2 separate regions of the Homo sapiens genome follow, and region 2 is linked to region 1. The links are contacts of gene promoters, found by promoter capture Hi-C in human tissues and cell types (Jung and others, 2019). All regions are on one chromosome and are shown on one strand. The core of a region is centred on a gene start or on the middle of the fragment in contact, and the rest is flanking DNA. Distances in the headings are between cores, read along the strand shown. Region 1 holds the start of CLIC6 (chloride intracellular channel 6). Region 2 overlaps RUNX1 (RUNX family transcription factor 1).

Region 1 (7,052 bases), core at 2,315-4,814:
GGCTGAGGCAGGAGGATCACTTGAACCTGGGAGCTGGAGGCTTCAGTGAGCCGAGATCACACCACTGCACTCTAGCCATTTTATAAAAGTAAAATGGAGTGCTTGGGGAAAATAATTAATCAGAGACTGCAGCAAGGTAAGGGAGTAAGCCATGAGAATATAGGGGGCATCCCAGGCAGAGGCCCAGCAAGTTCTAGGGACGGCAAGCAGGCTGGTGTTTTAGGGGCTGCAGAAGTCTAGTAAGCCAGAAAGAGACTGGGATTGCCTGATTTTATAGGACCTTATACTTCATGCATAAAGACTTGACTTTTTCTTACTGTGAGACAGAAAACCTTTGAAAGATTTTGAGCATAAAAGTGGCATGGTCTGATTCATGATTTCCAAAGAGGATCAGCTGGCTGTGGAGTGGAGAGCAGACTGTCGAAGGCCAGGAACTAGTTAGGAGGTGGTGGCAATAATCTAGGTGACAGGAGGTGATGGTGACTTGGACTGGTACAGTGGTAATGGAGATAGAGAGAAGAGGTTGGATTTTACGTGTGTGAGTGTGTGTGTGTGTGTGTGTGTGTTTGTGTACTTTCTAGTGATGGCATCTCACTATGCTGCTTCCAAGCTGGTCTAGAACTCCTGGGCGCAAGTGATTCTCCTGCTTCAGCCTCCCGAGTAGCTGGGACTACAGGTGCACCACCATGCCTGGCTTTGGGTATATATTTTTAAAAAGTGAAGCCAGTTGGATTTACTGGCAGGTTGGATGTAGGGTTTGGAAGAAAAGAGCTAAGGTTTTCAGTTTGGGCATGTCTGTGCACACGTTGGCATATGTGTCTACATAAAGCTTAATGTTATCCAAAATTATCTCATTTCTTTTTTTACTTATTTTATTTTTATTTTTTTTTTGCTTTATACCATTTGAAGAGGGACCTTCCCAGTCTTGTTTATTGCTGTATATCCAGTGTCTGGAACAATCTGTCTCTTTCTCTTTCTCTCTTAAAAGAAAGTATTTAGCTATCGGTAATGTGGTTACAGAAAAATTGTAAGGAGCTGTTATTTTCTGTCTTCTGCATTTTCAGCATTGAGCCTGCATTTATTTAAAAACAAACTTTATTTAATTTCAGAAGATTGAACAAATTTGCAAAATTATATAATAGAAAATTTTAAAATGCTTATTATCATTAAGTGAAAAATTCTACATTCTGCAGACAGAATGTTATTTTGAGAGCCAATGTTAATGTGAGTAAATGACCCCAAACCCTATAAAAGAATAAATCCAAACCCTATAAGATCAAATAGCCTTGTGTGATCCACAGGATCAGTTTCCAGGACAGAATAGACTTTATTAGCATTGTTTTTCTGCAAGGACATTATTCAGGCCAGTTCTCAGCCACTCAGCCAACAGCTTTGTTTCCGACTGTGCCAAGTCTGCAAACAGTAGCTGATCATCTTTAGCTCAATTCAAAAGGAGGTTTTTCTAGATATTCCAACCACACCCCCCCCCAATAGCCAGCACATTTCTATCAAGTTTGATTGAGTTAGAGTTTATGAAATATTTCCTGAATGACTGAATACACACGTGCCTTCAAATACATATGCACCAACCTGAACTAGTTTTGGAAAATACTTTCCTCAGTTAGTTTTATACTTTGGGGGGTAAGCTAATGTCACAAGACACTCTATTGACAGAAATTCTTATCTACTGACTTTGCTAAAAGAATTTGCTAAATATTATTACTCGCATGAGTGTCTTTAATTTGGTTCTTTGTAAACATTGAGCATTGAAGACGGTTTGTTATTAAGGACAAAGTTATGTATCTAACTAATCTCACATTTTTCTAAGCAGCGCAAATAAACCCAGAGCCCTTCAATGGTTCACAGGTCCACAATCCTTTTATACACATTCTGAAATCCTAAAAGGCTCTGAATACTGAAAGCTGTTTTGGGAACTCATCTAGAATCAGAACCAGAAAGGCTTGAACTCAGCTGGAGGTGAACCTAAACTGGGGGTGGGGGGCCTGAAGCTTGTATGATTTTACCATATCTCACCAAATGTGATGCCTGTCTTACTGCAGAAATATTAATGTGTTTGATCACAAAGTGATGTTCTGTGTTATGTAATATACAGTAAAATCACTCAATCATCTTTCTAACAATTCTGTTTTCTGAAACACATCCGGGCTCATGGGATTTGCATAAAGCACTGTAAACCTGTACTGTGTTTGCTGTTCCGGGCTGAACGTGCTGGCTTCATCTTTCTTTACAAGATAAGGGTGATGGCTGCTACCTTGCCCCGGTGAATGCAGCAGGATTCCTTTTCTAGGTGCCTAGAGCTTTTACGGCTCACGTGCATCTCTGGCTCACCTGTGTGAGTGTCATGCTTTGACTAGATGCCACTTTGTGGTGATGAAGCTTCTGGCCTGTACCTACCCAGACAGAGCACAGCCTTGGAGAAAGGTAGCATGAAGCTGAGTGTCTCTGGGCTCCTGTCCTGTCATCCATCAGTGATGAGCAATGGGAAGTAGAAGGAGACACATTATGTTCATGGCCAAAGGTGTGACCCCAAGCCACATCAAAGGCACACCCAGCTCTTTCAACGAAAACAACCTTCTGTGGGCATGAGGGGCTCATGTATCTTAGGCCAATATCAAAGCCATATAAAGCCTGATGAATCAAGTCAGTCTTGAGCTGGGATCCCCGTTCCACCACATTTACATAGTGCCACCTTGGGTAACCCAGTTTCTTGGTAACCCACTAGAAGTAGCCTGGCTTATAATAAACTTACGACATACTTTTCACCATAATAACTTCCTTTTTAAAGTAGGTATTGGGTCTGTGATCCTGGGAGAACCCTAACCCAGGGAATTCCATAGCTCCCCTCTTTCACATCTTGGATTTTCTTTTCTCCACCTCCAGATTCCCAAGCTCTTAACTTGGAGGCAGAAGCACTGGTGGTGAGTTTAGAAATCTAGGAGAATCAGCAAGATACACAGACTCTTACAGTCTTAAGAGACCCGGGAGATGAAGGTGTAACCTTTTTCCAGCGCAGGGCTCCCACGATCCTCCAGACAGGCCCGGAGAAGCGGACCCTCATGGACAACAGCGCCCATCTCTGGTCAGAGAAACTCGACTGGCTCCTTGTGCGTCTATATGAGGGGCCTCTGGAACCTCTCCGGGGGCCCTGCAGACATGGGAAGGCGGCCAGCGTAGCCTCCCCAGCTTCTTCTCTCAGGGATTTACACCCTTGCTCTTGGACATCAGGCACAATGTGGACATCTTCAGTTGGGTACCGGGGGAGCTTGATGCTTCACTCCTGGGGTAAGGTGGGGATTAGGTGTTTGGGTGTCGGGGTGTGTGTTTGGAGGGGGTGATTTAAGTGACTCTGGAACTTGAAGCCATTCTAGAGAACAACACCCAAGCGGCCAGGAGAACCAGAATCTTTTCATCAACATCCACAAGGGTCACGAGAAAGGCTGTCATTGGCCAAGCTCCTAGGCTACCCAAACAAAGGAGGGAGGAGGGGAAGACAAACCCCGCCCAAGCCCCAGGGGATGGAGTTGGCACCAAGGACTTCTGGTCAACCCCAGGACAGCGGACAGCGGGCCGGGCACTTCCAAAGGCGCAGGAGCGAAGCAGCCCTCTCCAGCCGTGCACTGCACCTCCGCGGCCCGCGGGCGAGATTGGGGTCCCGGTGGGAAGCAGACGCGCAATCGGGGAGAAGCTCCAGCAGTGGAGGAAGAGTCCAGGGAGTTTCAGCTGGGCAGAAGGGGCGCAGAGGCTTGGGGCCAAGCGGAGTTTGCCCTGCGGGTCCTGCGCAAGGCCCCAGTGCCCCGGCTAAACCTTTGCCGCAGGATCCCGGAGCCGGCGTCCTTCAAGGAGCACAGAGGGCCCCGTAGCACGCCCCTTGCCCAGCGCCACCGACCCTTAAGCAGCGTCAAGGAAGGAGTCCCGATCAAGGACAGGGATCTGCGGCCATGGCCGAGGCCGCGGAGCCGGAGGGGGTTGCCCCGGGTCCCCAGGGGCCGCCGGAGGTCCCCGCGCCTCTGGCTGAGAGACCCGGAGAGCCAGGAGCCGCGGGCGGGGAGGCAGAAGGGCCGGAGGGGAGCGAGGGCGCAGAGGAGGCGCCGAGGGGCGCCGCCGCTGTGAAGGAGGCAGGAGGCGGCGGGCCAGACAGGGGCCCGGAGGCCGAGGCGCGGGGCACGAGGGGGGCGCACGGCGAGACTGAGGCCGAGGAGGGAGCCCCGGAGGGTGCCGAGGTGCCCCAAGGAGGGGAGGAGACAAGCGGCGCGCAGCAGGTGGAGGGGGCGAGCCCGGGACGCGGCGCGCAGGGCGAGCCCCGCGGGGAGGCTCAGAGGGAGCCCGAGGACTCTGCGGCCCCCGAGAGGCAGGAGGAGGCGGAGCAGAGGCCTGAGGTCCCGGAAGGTAGCGCGTCCGGGGAGGCGGGGGACAGCGTAGACGCGGAGGGCCCGCTGGGGGACAACATAGAAGCGGAGGGCCCGGCGGGCGACAGCGTAGAGGCGGAGGGCCGGGTGGGGGACAGCGTAGACGCGGAAGGTCCGGCGGGGGACAGCGTAGACGCGGAGGGCCCGCTGGGGGACAACATACAAGCCGAGGGCCCGGCGGGGGACAGCGTAGACGCGGAGGGCCGGGTGGGGGACAGCGTAGACGCGGAAGGTCCGGCGGGGGACAGCGTAGACGCGGAGGGCCGGGTGGGGGACAGCGTAGAGGCGGGGGACCCGGCGGGGGACGGCGTAGAAGCGGGGGTCCCGGCGGGGGACAGCGTAGAAGCCGAAGGCCCGGCGGGGGACAGCATGGACGCCGAGGGTCCGGCAGGAAGGGCGCGCCGGGTCTCGGGTGAGCCGCAGCAATCGGGGGACGGCAGCCTCTCGCCCCAGGCCGAGGCAATTGAGGTCGCAGCCGGGGAGAGTGCGGGGCGCAGCCCCGGTGAGCTCGCCTGGGACGCAGCGGAGGAGGCGGAGGTCCCGGGGGTAAAGGGGTCCGAAGAAGCGGCCCCCGGGGACGCAAGGGCAGACGCTGGCGAGGACAGGGTAGGGGATGGGCCACAGCAGGAGCCGGGGGAGGACGAAGAGAGACGAGAGCGGAGCCCGGAGGGGCCAAGGGAGGAGGAAGCAGCGGGGGGCGAAGAGGAATCCCCCGACAGCAGCCCACATGGGGAGGCCTCCAGGGGCGCCGCGGAGCCTGAGGCCCAGCTCAGCAACCACCTGGCCGAGGAGGGCCCCGCCGAGGGTAGCGGCGAGGCCGCGCGCGTGAACGGCCGCCGGGAGGACGGAGAGGCGTCCGAGCCCCGGGCCCTGGGGCAGGAGCACGACATCACCCTCTTCGTCAAGGTAAAGCTCGCTTCCCTCAATTCTTAGGACGACCCCCTTCCATTCGAGGTCTTGGTCATCTCAGATCCCAGAGGGACGCGCAGGGAGGAACCCTTGGTGGTATCCTGATTGTCATCAGGCGCTTCCATGCGCGGGCGGTAGGCGGGACAGCCGGGATTTCCCGGAGAAGAGTTTCCAGGGCATTTGCGGGAGGACTCAATGGTTTGGAAGCAAAGACTTTGGGGGTGGGGGCGACGGGGAGTGCGATGGGGGCCAATGAGGATGTGGGGTTGTGGGTTCAGCATCCCACTGTCCTTTGACCTGAACATCCTAACCAGCCCTCCTAGTCAGGAGGTTATTAACGAATTAACTAAAAAGTTAAAAAAAAAAAAAAAAAAAAAGAAGAAGAAGAAGAAAAGCAACGCACCCTATTGGTGTTCAAAGGGATTTCTGCCAAAGGAAGCTTTAATACTTGAAGCCAAAAAACGCAGACAGGTAGGTTCAATGTGGGAGGTGCCTTCCAGACTCAATCTCGGAGACCCAGAGCTGGTCAATGTTTTCAACTCCAAAAAGGTATTCCATTTTGGTAGAATCAACAATGTACGTTTAGGGGGGAATGGAGCCTTATTGACATAATGTTTTTTGAACGTTTTAACATTGAATTTGGAAGAATACAAGATGCCGGTGACTTGAACATCATCTGCTTGTATGTCATGTTTTTAACCTCAGTTCACATGGGAAGAGAGCAAGGATTCTGTGAAGGAATCTGTAGAGACACAACTGAGGAAGTTTTGAATTTAAACAGGAATTATTTACAAGGCATGAAAAATGAAAGAACAAAGCTCAGCAGCAGTTCACACCAGGATCTTTGTTTAAAAAGCCTTTTCTGAGGACCTTTGGCCAGACCCAGGAAAGTTGGAGATAATAAGGTCAAGAATGTGCATTTCATGTTGAATCATAATCCTTCAGAAATACTTCCAGGCTTATAGAAACCAGTTACCATCTAAATCTCTCTGGCTGAAATGCAAGCACATTTTAATAAGTAAAAGGAAATGCTCCCAATGTGATTAACATCAGAATTTTAAGAATTGTTTGGGTGGCGAGGGGCTTGGGAAAGAAGGGGTGTGTGTGTGTTTCTTCCCTAGTGAGAAGGTGCTGTTTCTGGCTTTTTTCAAGACCCTGGGACATAACCTCAGGACACCAGCCCCTGAGAGGCTGCTGGGAAGAGCTGGAGCGCAGTGCTGCTGTGTGACCCCAAATCTGCTCCTCTCCATCACCTTGGTTTTAGAAATTTCCCGTTGCTGTGGTTGTAAGGATACATGATTCTGGCACACGGCCTCTTAGCACAGTTTTGATGGACAGTAGCAGCTTCTGGCTAGTCTCCCTGTTTCAGTTCTCTGTCCTCTCCAATCTAGTCTCTTTGTAATAGCCAGTGAGCTGCGGACAAGATCTGATCATTTTATTTCTTTGTGTAAAATTCTTCAGTTGTTTATTGCAGAATTTCAGGTAAATCCCCACTCCTTAGGCAGCCCACAAGGCCCTTTGTGATGTTATTTCTGCCTTCTTTCTTTCTGGCCTTGGCATTGCTGGGTGTCCCCACCCTTTGTTACCTGTGGTCTCGCTATGCCACCTGGATTAAACTACTTACTGTTCCTTGAGGGAGCCACGTTCTTTCCTGCCTTGAAACTTTCTACATTATGTACCCTCTGTCTGAATGGAGTTTCTCCTCCTCGCCCCTGT
Region 2 (7,052 bases), core at 2,184-4,683, 210 kb after region 1:
TCTTCTTTGGTTCTGAAATGAAATTACTAAAGCTGTATTTCCTGATTGATCAGTTATTCTCTGACTGATTAAATACTCCAACTGGGATGAAGCAGTCACAGATTTCATTGCTAAAATTTCTTTTTCTTTTTTCTTTTTTTAGATGGAGTTTTGCTCTTGTTGCCCAGACTGGAGTGCAGTGGCGCAACCTCGGCTCACTGCAACCTCTACCTCCTGGGTTCAAGCGATTCTCCTGCCTCATCCTCCTGAGTAGCTGGGATTACAGGCGCCCGCCACCACACCTGGCTAATTTTTTGTATTTTTAGTAGAGATGGCGGTGTCACCATGTTGGCCAGGCTGGTCTTGAACTCCTGACCTCAGGTGATCCACCCACCTCGGCCTCCCAAAGTGCTGGGATTACAGGTGTGAGCCACTGTGCCCGGATACCAATTGCTAAAATTTCTTAAATTTCTCTCAGCTGAAGCCATGATACACTTTCTTGTCATTCTAAAGGTGGCAGGTGATGTAGCACTTGCCTCAACTGCAGATGTAAACTGATATAAGCTGCTCAGTGAATTCGTTTCACATAAGAGAATTCCTTTTGACCCTGAACTTCAATTTTTTGGGGGTGTCATGGAGTCCCAGTCCATTTGGCTAAAATGTGAATTATTCTGAACAATAACCTCTGTGCTCACATGACCTCTGGAGTTCAGCCCGGTCCCCAGAGCTCCCTAACCCTCATCTCCTGGGAGCTGCTATCTCTTCCTCCTTTGTAAAGGAGCGGTCGATTTACATGGAGATACTGAATCAAAGAGAGAAACATTCCAAGGGTGAGATACACTCTGAACCAAGATTTAAACTGCCAAGGAGAAAAAGGAGGGAATGGAAGAAAAGAGAGAAGGTTCAGGCTTCTACAGGGCCAGTGTAGCCAGCGAGGCCATCAAAGCCGGACAGGCAGGTTTTCCCAGTTACGGAATGAACCCGAGGTTAGGAGCTGTGATCCTGGATGGCAGCCAGCGCCCAGATAGATTCGTTTTGTAGAACAGAGAAAAACCCTTCCATGTTCAACCTCTGGCAGTTTCTATGAGGTTTACAATCCCCATGGACTGGCAGCTGGTCACAGAAAGAGAACTTCTTTCTCTACCTTTCATTTTGCACCACTTACTAGGCCCCTTGGAGAATCCATCAGACTGGTGGCTTTTGACAGAATTCAAAATTGGCACTGAAAGTTTGGATGAGCCAAGAGCCAGGGCCTTCTGAGCCATGGCGTGGTGTGTTCATGCCAAGGGTATATTTTCAAGCACATTTTCAAAAACAGAAAATGAGACAGTTGTCTTAAGATCACTTAATAAAACGTAATGAAACTGTTAAAGGTAAGATTCAGTGAGGAAGATTAAGACTAATTGTTAAAATTAGTCAGAATGATCTGCTCTCTTCCTAATGGGAAGCAAATTGCAAAAAAAAAAAAAAAGAAGAAGAAGGAAAAAGAAAGAAAAAAATCTGGCAGGCTTTGGTGTTGACACTTACACTTGAAAGAGAAAAATCAAGTTATATTTTATGACTATGGAAAGAAATTATGACAGAGTCAAATCGGGCCTTCAGACAGCTCATTTACTTTTGTAGCGCTGACTAAAAAAAAAAAAAAAAATATATATATATATATACACACACACATATATATATACATCTCAAGACCAACAATATTCATATCCACAGTAATTACAATTGGGTCAAATGTTCCATTAGGGTTTCCGTATTTTTTATTGCTTATTATCACTGGTGGGAAGGAGAGTCTGTTCAAAATATTGTCTGTTTATGGCATTTCAATTAATTTTCTCATTCCAGAGTATGGGAAGACAGCCCAGCCTTGGTTGCAGCTATTTTACTTTTTGGGGTTTATGCAAACTCAAGGGCATACTGGCACGAATCCTGCAGCCAAATGCAAACACTCCACACCTTGGGGAAACAGTTCACTGTTACCCAAGTAAACACAAGCACCTATTAGTCACCCACTCAAAACAGAAATGGTCAATGAGGGATGCAAGATCAGCCATCAATGCCAGAAAAGAAAGCACACTGCTTTCAAAATCTCATTTTTTTATTATCACTGGTTTACTGTGCATTGCCGGAAAGCCACTACTGAACTTCTTGTGGGAAAATGTCACTGGCACGGATCACTAAATAGTTTTTAAAACTTTTATGACCAAAACCTAACTTGAAGACCCACACAGATGCATAGTATGATGATAACACTTTCTCTAGAAAAGCAATTCAATGATACTTAGCTATTGATTCCTAACAGCAGAAATCCACAAGAACTGAATTAAGAGAGTTAGCTAGGCCGATGGGCATGGACCAGGCTGTGGGGCCTTTGTTTTTTATTGGCTTCTCACCCACTCTGCCAGCTACTCATCCGAAGCCTTTAAGATGTTTTCTAGACACACATCTCTGAATCATAATGCAAATTCCATTTACTGAAAGGTGGGGACTTTTAATACAACAAGTGAACCCATTTAATGACTTATGCTTTTATATCTTATAGCATCACTCATGCTTTCAAAAAGTGGATATAATTTTCTTTGCATTACCCTATTATTAATATAGTACTATGAATATATATTTTCAATCACATTATATAAATTTTTTATTTTCTCCAGCTATGATTCTATTATGAAAATGCTCCAGATAGCTAGGATAGCAAAAATAATCACCAAAATAATCAACTCACATTTACCCCTTTCTCCTTTCTGACTAATCAAATTCTCTGAGAACTGAGATTTTCTTGTTTTTAAATGCCTTTTTAAAGAGTAATAATTTCTCTTATTTTAAATGTTGTTTGATTGGTGCTTCCATTTTTTTCAATACGAGAACTATTACTGTTATTTAGGTATTTACCATAAGTCTTTTTATTATACTTGAAATAACTTATTTGTAAGCTTAATCGGTACTATATTACAAAAAATGAGTTTAAAAAACTATCTTACCTCCCTCAACTAAACTTTTACTACTTGTTGCTATTTATAAAATATGATTTGGTTCTTACAATGTAAAGAAAACATAATACTTGAAAATAATTGGAAACCAGAAAAAATTACAATAAGCCAAGATTCCTATTTCTGCTCTAATGCTTTGATAATGAGTTAAAGGCAAGGAAAAATAAAATCACACATGGAGCTGAAGTAATGCAACAATTTCTTGGATAATCCAATCTCTAATATTATTAGTATCTAAAATGCTAACCAGGCCCAACCCCTCCTCCTAAATAAGGCATTGAAAAGAAATACAACAGGAAGATCATACTGCCATCAATGGTACTAACATTATTTCTTCATGTCTTTTTCTAAAAAGGTAAGCTTGCTTGAAACCATGTTTCAACATCATACACTAGAAATCCCTAAAATTATTAGAAGTGGTCATTCGAAACTCTGTCACTTTTCACAGATAGCCCACAGATCATACGTCAACAGTTTCCATTAAATAGCTTTTGTATTGTTATCCAAGAGAGAATCCTCATTGTAATTGTATAATCCTAGTTTCATTAAAGTCAGTTTTATATTTTTTGCATTTTAGTAAAAATCTCAGGCGTTTCTTTGAAATTCACAATTCCTACGTTGCATGTTCCAAATCAGTCTTAAATCCACTCAGTAACATAAAGCAATAATATAGAGATTCTGCTAAAAATATTAAACTTCAAATAAATATTTTTAAGAGCTTGACATAGCAATAAGAATGTTAAGACAGACCGAGTTTCTAGGGATTCCATCACAGAAATCACTAGAATTTTGAAATGTGGGTTTGTTGCCATGAAACGTGTTTCAAGCATAGTTTTGACAGATAACGTACCTCTTCCACTTCGACCGACAAACCTGAGGTCATTAAATCTTGCAACCTGGTTCTTCATGGCTGCGGTAGCATTTCTCAGCTCAGCCGAGTAGTTTTCATCATTGCCAGCCATCACAGTGACCAGAGTGCCATCTGGAACATCCCCTAGGGCCACCACCTAAACACCAGTCAAAGGACAAATGCAGACATCAGGGATGTTATACATACACTTTTAGGGCATTTGTGTAGTGATTATTCTAAAATTAAATGTATATTCAATGATTTCTTTTTAGGTTGCAGAGGAATAGCAATGATAACTTAAGCAAAACAACAGAAAAGTTATAAAGAGAAGACACTTTTTTATTATATTTTAGGTTGGTGCAAAAGTAATTGCAGTGTTTGCAATTTTTAACTCCAAAAACTGCAGTTACATTTGCACCAACCTAATACATTATGTATAACTATATGTAAATTTTCAAATAGTGACACATATACTAAATTTACCTCATAAAGCCATAGTAGGTCACATAGCACAGTTGGAACAAGACTAACCATAGCAAGATATCAAGGATTTTGAGTAGCTATGCCGTCTCCTGAATACAAGCATCTCTTCTTAATTTCTCCCGTTTGAGAAACAGAACATCCTGTGTTTGTAAGTTTATAATCCAACCCATCTTTTACTTGCTCAGACCTCCACTAACAGGCTGAACAAGGTGCAGACTTTACTTTTAGAAAATAAAACAAAACAAAAAAACACAAAAAAACCCAATTTCTGCTAAAAGTAGATTTCATCTTGCTGACGATTCTTAAGTAACTTAAACTGTCCCTCTACAGTTCATCTTTGATACCTCCTACTCATCGCTATTATCTTGAGTTTTACTAGCAATGAATTCTAGCACACAAGAAAAAAAAATCAGAAATGCACCCTTCGTTTACTAATTACAAAATCAACAGACCTCAGAAAGACGGGACATTCACTTCTATGCACTCCCCTCAATTCAGGGGTGGAATTGGGTTGCATTTTTGTATCTGTGAGTCTCAGCGTGTGTAAACTCATGTCCTCACAGATGCCTGAGGTTTTCTGCTAGCCCAGCTGATCTTGACCAGGAATTTATTTAATGTAACTGAGTAAGTATGAAGTCTTATCAGGGCTATTGGAGAAAACTGGTAGATAAATGTTTTTATACTCAGGTAATTAAGAAAATGAATTCCAAAGTAAAATACTCTGAAAAGCATGACCTAAAGATACTTTGTACAATAGCATCAATTTCTTGGCTATCATTTAGGCCTTCTAGAAACTATTTTCTTGGTCTAGACATTTACTATTGGCTGTATTTCCTTTGTTTCTATTTTTCAAAGCAGTCATACAACTTCAAATCGAAATGCCCCAAGCTGTATTTATTCTGATCATTTCTGACATTCTTTACGGTAAAGTCAGTAGTGACATTTATATTACTCATTCCAATTACATCATCATTTTTGGTTGCTGTTTTTGAATTGGTAACAGTAAAGCATTCCTTAATCTAGTGTTATCACTCCTTCCTCTGCCTCCTACTTCCCAATTTTTACCTTAATAACTGCTACATAATTTTTTGTAGTATATATTTTCAGGCCTCTTTTTCTATATGTAAAAAAGGCTGCCATAGACTCACTTGTATGATATCGAAGTCATGTTTCTCAAGATTCCCATTTTCATGATCTGCTTAGCCATCACCCTTTCCCTGTGGCCTCCAGATGACTATCTATTGTTTTTATTCATTAGAACTGCTTCAGTCCTTGTGGCACAGAACACGAACTAACTCACTATGAGAGATGAACATACTTCCAACCCCAAGACTACACCAGGATAATCTAGTCTCATAGAAGCAGGGAGGCATTTTCCTCTATTTTATCCAACTTGCACTGCCAAACAAGGTCTGGGCCTTTTCTCTCTTTTTAATCCTTTCATTCCAATTGTTGGACATGTTTTCCATATAGGAGATTTTAAAACTCTGCTATTTATTCCCCAAGCACCCTCTAATTAGCTATTTAGTTCCCATTATAAGTGTGTTTGTTGCCATTTAATTAAGAGCAGTGATACGACAATTCCCTTTTTGTTTTAAAAAGATATCACGGAAATAAATCTCCCTGATCAGTTATTTGGTTATTGCTACTGTTTTTTTTTTTTTTCTATTCCCGAAAAATGGGCTTGCTTTATTTTGCTCTTTTTAGTCTCTCACAACAAATTTTCCCCTTTTTTTCATGATTTTCACTTCCCGTTGTAAAGTTAGCTCACAGTGTTGAAATGCCCTCTTTGAACACATATTTTTACTTCCTCATCCTCCTCTCCCTGTGGTAACCCAGGCTTCTCTATTGTAACTCAACATTCAGCAGGTATACAGAGACTGCCTCCACTACGTGGGTTTCAAACTGAATAACTCATTGTTGGGTCTGGATCTGTAAAAAGGTGAAAATAAATAAATCTTCTTTTATAACTACAGGAATGTATTCTGAATTATCTGCCTCCTACTGCTGTTCCCCTCACAGTGCTCCAAGCCTGTGCCTCTCTCATCTTTCCAATACTATCCTCATTGGTAATTTGGCAAATTCAGGAGACCTTCGCCAAGTCGAAACAAACATAGAATAAAATTATCATGGAGGCTAAATAAGAAAAGGCTGTTGATGTTGGAACTTAAGAAGAAAAAAATTAGAAGTTTAACTCCCACTCCTCTTTTTTTTTAAATGCAGCAGAATCAACCATATTTGGGCACCTACATATCATTCACTTGGCCTTGTATTGATCTCTGAGGGTTTTTTTTTGGTGGAGGCGGGTGGGTAAAGGGGAACTAGTAAATCCAGGGCAATTCATTAATACTGTATATCGTCCAATTGTTAACAAGCATACTTAAGCCAGGTTTAAAAAGTTTCTTTTTAATTCAAAACTAACATGCGTGCTAATTTGATACAGGTTTTGTCACTGATGGGCAATATGGAGAGAATGTAAAAATATCTAACTTCAAACAGAAAAAAGAAACAACTGGAATGAAAAGCTATAAACAATAGGTAAGGAAACACAAACATTTACATTTTAACACAGACCAAACAGGCAAGAAGGGACTTGCTGGCCAAAGATATCTCATATTTTGTTTTACTTCTCTGTTTTTAAAGTATCAGGAAGTTGGGCCAAATATCAACTCTCTTCTATATTACATGGACCTCCCAATACTGTTCTTGGCTAGCCTGTTCACGGTCCAAACTGGCATTTTAAACCA

What was found. The method cuts DNA at HindIII sites, captures the fragments that hold promoters and counts their contacts. A contact is called where the count stands out against the background at its distance.
Region 2: a fragment that was not itself captured here is called in contact with the fragment with the promoter of CLIC6 in region 1 in 1 of the 25 tissues and cell types used here (lymphoblastoid cells).

The regions. Positions count from the first base shown.
Region 1 is chr21:34,665,430-34,672,481 of GRCh38, forward strand. It overlaps CLIC6 (chloride intracellular channel 6), which reads left to right and starts at 3,565. Exons shown (of 6, transcript NM_053277.3): 1 at 3,565-5,333. The coding sequence starts at 3,960. RefSeq lists silencers at 3,858-4,297, 5,198-5,277. The HindIII fragment of the contact is 4,429 bases long and covers 2,204-6,632 here.
Region 2 is chr21:34,876,735-34,883,786 of GRCh38, forward strand. RUNX1 (RUNX family transcription factor 1) reads right to left here. Exons shown (of 9, transcript NM_001754.5): 5 at 3,823-3,979. It overlaps RUNX1-AS1 (RUNX1 antisense RNA 1), which reads left to right. Exons shown (of 2, transcript NR_186614.1): 2 at 6,749-7,052. Among named protein-coding and RNA genes, the nearest start is that of RUNX1-AS1, 44 kb to the left of the region's middle. RefSeq lists a silencer at 6,189-6,238. The HindIII fragment of the contact is 5,344 bases long and covers 762-6,105 here.